3 separate regions of the Homo sapiens genome follow, and regions 1 and 2 are each linked to region 3. The links are contacts of gene promoters, found by promoter capture Hi-C in human tissues and cell types (Jung and others, 2019). All regions are on one chromosome and are shown on one strand. The core of a region is centred on a gene start or on the middle of the fragment in contact, and the rest is flanking DNA. Distances in the headings are between cores, read along the strand shown. Region 1 has its middle 10 kb from the start of FKBP9. Region 2 overlaps KBTBD2 (kelch repeat and BTB domain containing 2). Region 3 holds the start of LSM5 (LSM5 homolog, U6 small nuclear RNA and mRNA degradation associated).

Region 1 (3,796 bases), core at 907-3,406, 460 kb before region 3:
AATTGGAGTGCATATTCAGGACAACTTGAATCTATGCCCCCAGGTTGCAATCCTCAAGCCTGGCCCAAATAAACTCTCTAACTTATATTAATTTTGCCTCAGCTTCTTTCTTTTAGGTGAACATAATTATCAAGAAGAGATGACTAGAATGCAGATCCTGTCAGATTATTGAACTGCACATTTCCTACCCAGCATCCCAGCATCCCCCGTCTTTCTCTCTCTATCTCTCTGTCTCTGTCTCTGTCTCTCTCTGTTTAAGTCATAGCACATTGATTTTGGTTTCCAGAACTACCCCTTCCCCACTGTCAGTCTACATGACAGGGGTAAAGCTGATTCCACCCCTGGTAATTATGGCAGGCATGTAACCTAGGCTTGGCCAGAGTGACGCAGGATTTTTCTCAGTCATTTTGCCAGCTAGGGACCTCCAGCTGGTACCACTGCCACCTGGGCCTTGCTCAGGCATGCTACCTGCTGCAGGAGGTGCCCTGCCTACTCAGTCTGCCTGAGCCAAGTCTGGCTTGTGCATTGGCTCAGTCCGTGGCTGGGCCAGGTGTGCCTCAGCTCTCCTGTGTTACAGCATGTACACACATTCAGTGGTTCCTAAGTTCCTGTCCCATGTCCAAGAAGAATAAGGATACACTGACAATTGAAGGGTGAGGAGGGTGGAGAAGAACTTTATTGAGCAATGGAATAGCTCTCAGCGGAGAGGGGATGCAGAGGTGGCCTCCTGCTCACCCCCCTCCCCCGTCGGTTGGTTTCTCTCTCAGTGTGGCTGAGTCTGGGGCTTTTATGAGCTCAGAATAGGGAAGTGCATGCTGATTGGTTTGTGAGTACGCAAAGAAAGGCTAAAGCAAAAGCACCCCTCAAAGGTGGGTATGGCAGTGTAGAAAACCAATTAGGAAAGGGTAGGTATATGTAAAATAGGTGAAGGGTGGAGAATCAATCAGAGGAAAGCATGTCAAATGGGAAGACAGATTCTCAATCTCATCCGTAGATTTGACTTATAGCTTGGCTTTCAGGTTTTACACTGTCTTCAGCTTGTAGGTGGGGTTTCTCCAGGGACCTGCCCCTATCTGCCTAGGCATTTGTCTGCCTACTGCTGCTATGAAGAGCACCGCATCTCTCTGACCACAGTGATTTTTTTCCTTCAGAGCTACGTGATGTTTGCTGAGTCAATGAGCATAGTTTAAGTTTTTTGGAAATAAGATTTCTTTCAGTGGAGGCTGCTAAATTGGTGGCCATCTATGCCTTCTAGTGTCCATCTTTGCCACCACAATGAGAGAACCTACATGAGAATAAATCAATACAAAGGAAGGTGAGGCTGAGAGAGGGAGAAAGTGCTGACTGTATAATTTCAGCACCTAGATACAGTCATTCCTGAAGCTTCACCCGTGGACATTTCACATATGTGAGCCAATAAATTCCTTTTTTTTTTCCTTAAAACAGCGTGATTTGGATTTTGGTCCATTGCTATTTTCAAAAGAGCCTTGATGCATAGTTGCTTAAGTGGAAATATTGATCCCTGGGTCTTCTTGGTGAGAAAATAAATCACTGTTGTTGTATATCTAACAAGGCAAATATTTGAATCAGTCAAAACTCTTTCAATTGCAAGTGAGAGAAACCTGACTCAATTGGTTTCAGCACAAAATTATATCTTAACATTTTTAGACTACTTGCTTGCTGACTCTAAGGTCACTGATTATGGCTGGACAATTTCTTTCTTTTCTTTTACCCTAAAGGAATTAAATAAAAGGGTTCATGCTTATAATCCCAGCACTTGGGGTGGCTGAGGCAGGAGGATTGCTTGAGCCCAGGAATTCAAAGCTGGAACGAGCTGTGATCGTGCCTCTGCACTCCAGCCTTGGCATAGCTAAAATTATTGTCTAACTGAACACCTTTTTAAGAAATATAAAAATATAAAAAATATAGAAAATATAAAAATATAAAAAGAGGGCCAGGTGCTGTGGCTCACACCTGTAATCCCAGCACTTTGGGAGGCCGAGGTAGGCAGATCAATTGAGGTCAGGAGTTGGAGACCAGCCTAGCCAACATGGCAAAACCTCATCTCTATTAAAAATACAAAAATTAGCCAGGAGTGGTGGTGTGTGCCTGTAGTACCAGCTACTCAGGAGGCTGAGGCATGAGAATCACTTGAAGCCAGGAGGCAGAGGTTGCAGTGAGCTGAGATTGTGCTACTGCACTCCAACCTGGGCAACAGAGTGAGACTCTGTCTCAAAAAAAAAAAAAAAAAAAAAGGCCAGGCATGGTGGCTTACATCTGTGATGCCAGCACTGTGGGAGGCCGAGGTGGGCAGATAACCTGACATCAGGAGTTCAAGATCAGCCTGGTCAACATGGTGAAACCCTGTCTCTACTAAAAACACAAAAATTAGCCAGTTGTGGTGGTACATGTCTATAATCCCAGCTGAGGCAGGAGAATCGCTTGAAACTGGGAGGCGGAGATTGCAGTGAGTCAAGATCATGTCACTGCACTCCAGCCTGGGCAACAGAGTGAGACTCCATCTCAAGAAAAAAACAAACAATAACAACAAAAAACCAAACAACAACAACAAAACCACATCATTTTCCTGCATTGGTATTCCTTCTGGCTGATGACATTCCAGGAGTTGTTTTTTTTTTTTTTCTTAATTAAAGCTTCATTTGCCTGAAGAAGCCAGATAAGTTTCTCACTGGTTCAAAAATAATTATGTGTATGGAAGGATAAAAAGACACTTATGTGACCAGGCATGGTGGCTCATGTAATTCCATTGCTTTGGGAGACCAAGGTAGGAGGATCACCTGAGGTCAAGAGTTTGAGACCAGTCTGGGCAACATAGTGAGATCCCCTGTCTACAACAACAACAACGAAGACACTTATGCAATGGTGTTGCTGTTCAGTGATACTGTCTCCACTAAATTTGTGGTCTGTATATGAGTGCATGTGGAACGGATTTCTGTATACCTCAAACAACATAGAAACATGGCACAGAAGATGCGAAAACAGAGAATGCTGTTGGTGTATATAGAATCACAAAAGAATTTCAGAAAGAGTGGCACTTCATAGAAAATTAATGTGAACGTATTATCCAAGAAGAATCATGTTCTAAAAGGGAAAAAAAGCAGCTATTTATCCTGATGCAAGTCTTCCAATAATCATAAAATTGGCCAGCTCTTATGGACAATCTCCATGCAATTGGCCATGATCTATCCCTGTAATACACTGTAATTCCAGTTACTCAGGAGGCAGGAGGATTGCTGAGGATCGGCCTGGGCAACATAGTGAGACTTCATTTCTAACAACAACAACAACAACAAAAATTAAGTTAAAAGGGAAGGAAAAGTGAACAGAGCTTAAGGGACCAATGGGACATTATCAAGTGAACCAATTTATGCATTGTGGGAGTCCAGGAAACAGGAAAGAAATAGAAAGGGGCACAGAGACTATTTAAATAAATAATGGCCAAAACTTCTCAAATTTGATGAAATCCGTGAATATAAAAATCCAAGAAGTTCAACAAATTCCAATTAAGATGAACTCAAAGAGATTCACAACAAGACACATTATAGTCAAACTTTTGAAAGACAAAGACAAAGAGAGTATCTTTAAAGCAGCAAGAGAAGCAACTCATCTGACAAGGGATCCATAATTAGATTATGTGCAGATTTCTCATCAGAGACTTTAGAGGCCAGAAGGCACATGGCTAATATATTCAAATTGCTAAAAGGAAAAACCATCAATCATATGTCCTATATCGAGCAAGACTGTCCTTCAAAAATTAGGGACAAATTGAGACATT
Region 2 (3,700 bases), core at 581-3,080, 400 kb before region 3:
ATGATTATTGTATCGCAGGTGGCATTGCCTTTATGTTCTTGTTTAATTTTTTAAAACTGAGATAACTTGTTAATCATAATATAGTACAGCTTGTACTTGTGACCTGAATTTACTTAGGGTGCTGAGCGTAATTAACCTGATGGAGCCATGTCATCTATCAGTATGGTTGGAAAGAGAGAACAGACCTAAGCTCTGAATGTGACTAGAGCAGAGGAAGCTATGCTGAAATTTTTTTTTTTTTTTTTTTGGGACGGAGTCTCGCTGTGTCGCCCAGGCTGGAGTGCAGTGATGCGATCTCGGCTCACTGCAAGTATGCTGAAATTTTTAAAACTTGATAGATTCTTCAAAAGGCCAGGTGTTTGTTTTTTTGGTTTTTTTGTTTTTTTTTGGTTTGTTTTTTAATTGATGCCTGTCACAACTCCAGAAAATTCTGTTTGTGTAGCAGTTGACAATCTAAAAAACAAATGGTCTTTTCCAGACATTCTCAACTGTCGTGGTTGTTTTGATAACTTGAAAGCAAACTGTTTCTAGCACCCATCTCTTGTCCTTCCTAAGGAGAAAACTATCTCATTGAAATAAAGAAAGGCTTGTTTTATGACTGGTGCCTTTCTGGACTCTCATTTAGTTTTTTACACTGACATCAGCCTCCTCAAGATTGGTCGTCTTTTAAGCACTAGTTTGTTTCATTATTTGTACCATCAAAATATGTGAGAAAAGGAAAAAAAAAGGAAAAATTATCTTAATATTTTAGAACACTGAATTCAGATTTCAAGTGTCAAATGTTTGCAAAAAAGTCCCAATATTCTCTGAAAACATTGGATTTCTCTTATGTAAAATACCATTTAGACAGAATGAAAAAAGAGAACTGTATTTGGAGTGCTGAGACCTTGAAATTGGAATCTTCGGACCTGGTGAAGGTGTGGAATCCAGGAGTTGGGAAAGTGCTGCAAAAGCTTCACCAGTGGGTGGGTTAATAAAAATAATTTCGAATATCTGTGTAGTGCTGTGTGTCAGGTACTGAACCAAGTATGAAATGTAATCCTAGAACAATTCATTGAGAAGAGAGTTGTACTTTTAACTACATTTTATAGATGAGCAAACTGAGGCATAGAGAATAAATAACTTAAAAAGGGCCACACAGCTATTAAGTTGCAGAACTGGGGCTTTAACCCAAGTAGTTTGGGTTTGTACTCAATTATTTTTCAACGGTTGACCTCCATGGAGAACGCCTTGGATCTTTTCCAACAAAAATTTTTAATCTTCTCTATTGACATTTGTAGCATTGGGAGATGCAGCACTCCCTAAGTTAGTAATGTACAATTTGAATGTGCTTCCTACAGGTGAATGATTTATAGCCGCACTGCCCCTCCTGGAGGGAGACCTATCATTCCTTCATTCCTACTATATAATTTATTTTATTTTTAGTTGGCAAATAATTGTATGTATTTGTGGGCTACAATGTGATGTTTCAATCTATGTACACATTGAGGAATGATTAAATCAGGCTATTTACATCTGTCACCTCATGTACTTATTTTTTTTGTGGTGAGAACATTTAGAATCTTTAGCAGTTTTGAAATACACAGTATATTATTGTTAACTGCGATCATCAACATGCTGTGTAACAGATCAGTAACACTTATTCCTCCTGTCCAATGGAAACTTTGTACCTACTACTGTGCTTATTGTAGCAGGCCTTGCTAGCAGCCTCCTTCCCATCTTTTTATCCTTTCTTCCTTTTTCATCCACAGCTCAGTTAATTGCTGATTGGTTTCTTTATCACATTCAATAGTTCTTTAATCCTTTATTCGTTCCTCAGTCTCTATATTCTGCCTGGTTAACATTGGAAAAGCTTGCTTTGCTTCTATTTGTGTTTCCAGGCTACTCAGTGGGAGGATGCTACAAAGTACACACCTCTAGGAATGAAAACTTGATTTCAAAGTGAAATTAGACATCTATCCCCCCTCATTGCCTCCCCCCAAAAAGCCAAAACACTGCCATCAACCTCTGACATCTTTAAAAGTATTTGGGATTTTTTAAAAATTTCAACATTTCATACTTTTAATCTTGGTTCCTTATCCTTTAATGTTAATAATCAGAATCTGTAAAACAATTTCATGGTCACTTATCTCTTTATGAGTATTAAAGTAGTATTTACTTTGTAAATTTTCTTTGCTGATAGACTTTCAGGCATGTTTTGCTGCTTATAGTGAGAAGTTAAACACCTTTTTAATACTGTTATTTTATAGGAAAGTTAAGTGAGGAATTCAGACAACCAACTTAAATTTGTTGCATAGAAACACAGTTGTCTCTTGGTTTCAGTGGGAGATTAGTTCCTAGGTCCCCTTGGGATATGAAAATCCAAGGACACTCAGGTCTCTGATAAAATGCCGTAGTATTTTCGATAACCTGTGCATATCCTCCCAATACTTTAAGTCATCTCTAGAAATAATATTTTGTGGGAAGAGTTTCAGATTTTTAAGTAGAATTGTATATGTTACTGTCGATTGCTAACTGATTTAATCCTGACAATCATTTAGTAACAATGTTTCAAAACTTTTATGTGTTGGAATTCACTCAGAACCTCGGAGACTTGGGCATCCTAGAGAAAATGTATTAGAAGCATTTGTTTTCAATCAGTTTATAAATTTTTGACTTCTGTAGGTAGTCTTCGGATTTAAAAATAAATAGGACTTTGTCCTGTAATAATTCGTAGAAAGTCAGTGGGTAGAGGCCGGACGTGGTGGCTCATGCCTGTAATCCTAGCACTTTGGGAGGCCGAGGCAGGCAGATCACCTGAGGTCAAGAGTTTGAGACCAACTTGGCCAACGTGGTGAAACCCCATCTCTACTAAAAATGTGAAAAATTAGCCGGACATGGTGGTGCGTGCCTGTAATCCCAGCTATTTAGGAGGCTGAGGCAGGAGAATTGCTTGAACCCGGGTGGTGGAGGTGGCAGTGAGCCTAGATCACACCATTGCACTCCAGCCTGGGCGACAGAGCGAGACTCTGTCTTTAAAAAAAAAAAAAAAAGTGTGTAGACAGTGGAGGAGAGGATTTCATCCTGTGTATAACATTTTAACCTTATCTTTGCCATTCTCTGCGATCAAGCAAATCAGTCAAAAACACTGAATTGAGCGCAGGACTTAAAAGAAGGAGTAAGAATATGTACACTTTTTATGTCAAAGTACATTGCACTTTATTAAGATTGTGAATTTCATTATATTGTGTTTGCATGACTCCAATTTAATTCTTATGCTGGTTAGCATTTTTTACTATGGAATATATTCTAATGATCAGTGTTAGAATATAGGACTTTCTTACTAATCTGGAAGCACCTGATACCAGGAATTGTGGCTTATAACAGGGATTTCCCAAAGTAATTTAAGTGTTTTTGAATAGCTTTTTCTCAGTATGGATTTTTTTTTTGGCAGGTTATCTTGGGGAGAGATGTCTTTTTTTTTTTTTTTAACCTTAATTAAAGGTACTCACACTAGATAAGAACATGTTTCGGAAGTCCACGGAACTAGCAGGAATTGGGGAAAGCAGTTGTGTGACTAGGTAAAAGATGTTAGAATATTTTGGTTGAGAAGAAAAGTGGAATATATATAAATTAGATTAAGAATTATATTTAATTCCGCGTTCAGGAATTTAAAGTTTGTGCTTTTCCTTGTTTTGTGATCTGAAGAGAAACATTATTC
Region 3 (3,971 bases), core at 1,075-3,574:
GTGTCTTGCCTCAGGAGAGAAAATAATAAAAATACCACTCCCTGAAATCCCCATTAACTCTACTATGTAAGTGAACTATATATCGTTCCTTTTTTCAGATTCTAAAGAGATTTTCTTTATTCTTTATTAGTGGCATTCAAAATTGCTAATGTTTATTCTGTTTTTTTTTTGTTGTTGTTGTTTTGAGATGGAGTCTCACTCCGTCGCCAGGCTGGAGTGCAGTGGCACGATTGGCTCACTGCAACCTCTGCCTCCCAGGTTCAAGCGATTCTCCTGCCTCAGCCTCCTGAGTACCTGGGACTACAGGCGTGTGCCACCACACCTAGCTAATTTTTGTATTCTTAGTAGAGATGGGGTTTCACCATGTTGGCCAGGATGGTCTTCATGTCTTGACCTCGTGATCCGCCCACCTCGGCCCCCAAAGTGTTGGGATTATAGGCGTGAGCCACTGTGCCCAGCCTATTTTTCTAATTTTTAAAAACTCTATCAAATAACAACAATGTTTTGAATTCTCCCATACTGTCAGTATGGTATGGGGAAAATAAAATAGGAATAGAAAAGGAAAACCAGGAAAAGAGGTGGTTTTCAACCAAATGAGGATTGGACAAAAAGAAAAAAAGAGAAAGAGAAAGAAAGAAGCGTCACAAACAAATCTGGCATTACTTCGTATTTAAAATCTTATGAAGAGTAAGGAGAATGTTGATGGGTGTGAATGAAATAGTGAGAATCAATTTAAAGAATATTCATTAGGCGCCCTACAGTGTGCCTGAAAATGTAGTGTGCACAGTGTATAAAATAAGAAATTGCTTCCTTAAAGTGGCTTATGTCTGGTTATAAAAATAAGATGAATGCAAAACCAGCTAGCAATGCTAGCTTTATGTAGCTTCACTCTGAGCCAGACATCATGTATTAGAAAACAAGGATAAGTAATAACAGCTCATGTTTAAAAGGGCTATGTGCCAGGTCCTATGCTGACCACTTTTCATAGATTATCTCAATTAATCTTCACATTAATCTTATGAGTAGATACTGTTGTCCCCATTTTTTCCAATGGGTATATTGAGACTTAAAAAGTTAAAATAACTTGCCCATTGTCAAATAACTGACCATGGAATTTGAACCAAAGTCATTTAATTCAAAATGAAGAAATTTAATCACGTAAACTACTGCTTCCCATAATTCTCAGCCTTGAGGAACTCAGTCTATGAAGGAATGATGGGTGCTTAATGACCATTTGTTGTATGAATGAATGACGTTCTTTGTGGCCGCTCATGTTTATTGTTTAGCTTTTTTTTTTTTTTTTTTTGAGATGGAGTTTCGCTCTTGTTGTTCAGGCTGGAGTGCAGTTGCATGATCTAGGCTCACTGCAACCGCTGCCTCTCGGGTTCAAGCAGTTCTCCTGCCTCTGCCTCCCGAGTAGCTGGGACTACAGGCGCACGCCACCACGCCCAGCTAATTTTTGTATTTTTAGTAGAGACGGGGTTTCACCCATGTTGGCCAGGCTGGTCTCGAACTCCTGACCTCAGGTGATCCGCCCGCCTCGGCCTTCCAAAGTGCTGGGATTACAGTCGTTACCACTGCGCCTGACCTAGACTGTTCAGGTTTAAGTTCCTAGGATACAAATATAAAACAGACTAGGGCCGATACTTTGCTGTTTTCAACACAGAAGTGGAAAGCATGATTTTACACTTCTGGAATAATTTAGAGTGACATCTGGTGGTTGCCTGTGAGACAAGAATTGTTGAAGAAACTGAATTTAAAAGCCTATAATAAATAAGACTACCAGACATAAAAAGATAAGAACGATGAATTAAAGTAGTAAAAAGTTTAAAAAACATATCTTAAATCCTCACTAAAGAAAAATTTTAAAAAATGCTAGTTGCAGATTTTCAATCCACTGGACTTTAAAAAGAAACAATAGATTCCTTAATGAGTAGTTGTAACGAAAATTGTAACAGTTAATTGATGGCAGGAAATACGAATTGATTTATACTGGTTTGAAGATTCTGGCTTGAGAGGAAATGCAACTTTACGGGGGAAGAAGACTCAAACGTTACAGGAACAATTTATTCACAAGGCAAAATATCTTCAACGTCTCTCCAAAACTTCAAGGGCATTATGGGTATCTGCCGAGATGGTAAAATGTCCAGTGGGCAGGAAATATTTCACCGGATCTCACTTGCCGGGGAAAAAAGCCAGTGAACGCGACCCACGCAGCTGACTAGATCGTGCGCTCGGCCTCAGATTGGTCGAGCCTGTTTGGGCTGCGGAAAAAGCGGAAGCGCGCTTTTCAAAGTCGTCCCACCATCAATGAAGGCAGGCCACTTCCGGCGTAGCCATGGCGGCTAACGCTACTACCAACCCGTCGCAGCTGCTGCCCTTAGGTAATCGCCGTCCTTTGGGGAGCAGGAACAGGGAGCTGACATTCAGGATTGGGGGCCGAGGGGCTGTTCCGAGGCAGGCCCTGGCCGAGTGTGGGGAAATGTATAAGACCAAATGCGGTTCGACTCTGAGCTCCAAGTCTTCGCGACAGCAGGCCGCACCTGCTCTTTAACGTGGTCGGGCTCCTCCAGGCAAGGACTTTGACTTCTCAAACCAGACCTTCACTGGAAAAGGTCCACATTTAGTGAACGCGTCGTCGGCCTACTTTGTTGTGAGCCCGCCTCTGCAGTGTTATAGGTAGTAGGCCTACTTCTCAGCCTGGCGTTTACGATCCCCAGATTAGATAGACCATGTTATGTATGTGGTTGGTTAGTGACACTAACACCCTGGTCCGGAATGAGCCTTAAATGAGGAATCTGGAAACCAGCTCTGTTTGTTATTTATTCATTCAATAAGTAGTAACTGAGTATCTATACACTAGATACCGTGCCTGGGCATTTTTCAATGATAAACCATAGCCATTGCCTTCAAATAGCACACAAGCCAGTGGAGGAGAGAACACTGGACAAGTAGACATCATGCCACATAATGCTAGGCTAGCTAAAGAGATGTTCAAGCTACCGTCAGAGCACAGAGGATAGACAGAGTTGGGAAAGGGAAGCAGTGACCGGAGAGTTTCCGGTGAATATAATTATACCTATCTCCTCTTATATTTTTGTAGTTGGTGAAGAGTGATTGAACTAGTGGTCGTGGCCGTGATTGAAAAGTTTTCATTCCTTCATGCCACAGACTCTTTTGGAAGGCTCATTATGTGCCAGATGCTGTGCTTGAACTGAGATTTGTATTATAAGACCTAAAGTTATTGAATGAATGTTTTTCCTGGTTTTTCTTTCACTATATGCAAGTAAGAGTGCCAGTAGGCACTCAAATATTTGTTGAAATAATGAATGGTAAAATAATATTTTTTCCCTCCTCAGAGCTTGTGGACAAATGTATAGGATCAAGAATTCACATCGTGATGAAGAGTGATAAGGAAATTGTTGGTACTCTTCTAGGATTTGATGACTTTGTCAGTATCCTTTTAAAAGGTGGTGGTGGTATAGGTTTTTCTTAAGTAATAACATAAGAACTATAGACAATCAGTATATTTGTGATTATTATAATAAAAATCAGTTCATTCTCAGGGAACTTATGATAATGTTTTAAGAGGTATGTATTGAAAGACGGTAAAGTTCCTATCAACAACAAGCATTTTGAATTTGAGCCATTGTATTAAACATTGTAATTAAAACTGAACAGGCGAGCCCAGTGGCTCACGCCTATAATCCCAGCGCTTTGGGAGGGCGAGGTGGGTGGATCGCTTGAGCCCAGGAGTTTGAGACCAGCCTGGGCAAGATGATGAAACCCTGTCTCCACAAAAATTACAAAAATTAGCTGGGCATGGTGATGTACACCTGTGGGTCCAGCTAATCTCCGGGGCTAAGGCAGGAGGATCCTTTAAGCCTAAAAGGTGGAGGCTGCAGTGAGGTGTGATTGTACCACTGCACTTAAGCCTGGATGACAGAGCGAGACTTTGTCTCAAAACAAAA

What was found. Contacts are between HindIII fragments. The study calls those that stand out against the background at their distance.
Region 1: a contact is called between a fragment that was not itself captured here and the fragment with the promoter of LSM5 in region 3, in 1 of the 25 tissues and cell types used here (lymphoblastoid cells).
Region 2: a fragment that was not itself captured here is called in contact with the fragment with the promoter of LSM5 in region 3 in 1 of the 25 tissues and cell types used here (hippocampus).

What each region holds. Positions count from the first base shown.
Region 1 is chr7:32,945,344-32,949,139 of GRCh38, reverse strand. No RefSeq gene overlaps it. Among named protein-coding and RNA genes, the nearest start is that of FKBP9, 10 kb to the left of the region's middle. The HindIII fragment of the contact is 4,202 bases long and covers 56-3,796 here.
Region 2 is chr7:32,885,242-32,888,941 of GRCh38, reverse strand. The region is part of intron 1 of KBTBD2 (kelch repeat and BTB domain containing 2); the gene reads left to right. Among named protein-coding and RNA genes, the nearest start is that of KBTBD2, 4.7 kb to the left of the region's middle. RefSeq lists an enhancer at 1-182. The HindIII fragment of the contact is 4,049 bases long and covers 1-3,700 here.
Region 3 is chr7:32,488,733-32,492,703 of GRCh38, reverse strand. It overlaps LSM5 (LSM5 homolog, U6 small nuclear RNA and mRNA degradation associated), which reads left to right and starts at 2,324. Exons shown (of 5, transcript NM_012322.3): 1 at 2,324-2,384; 2 at 3,360-3,455. The coding sequence starts at 2,339. RefSeq lists an enhancer at 2,372-2,421. The HindIII fragment of the contact is 28,883 bases long and covers 1-3,971 here.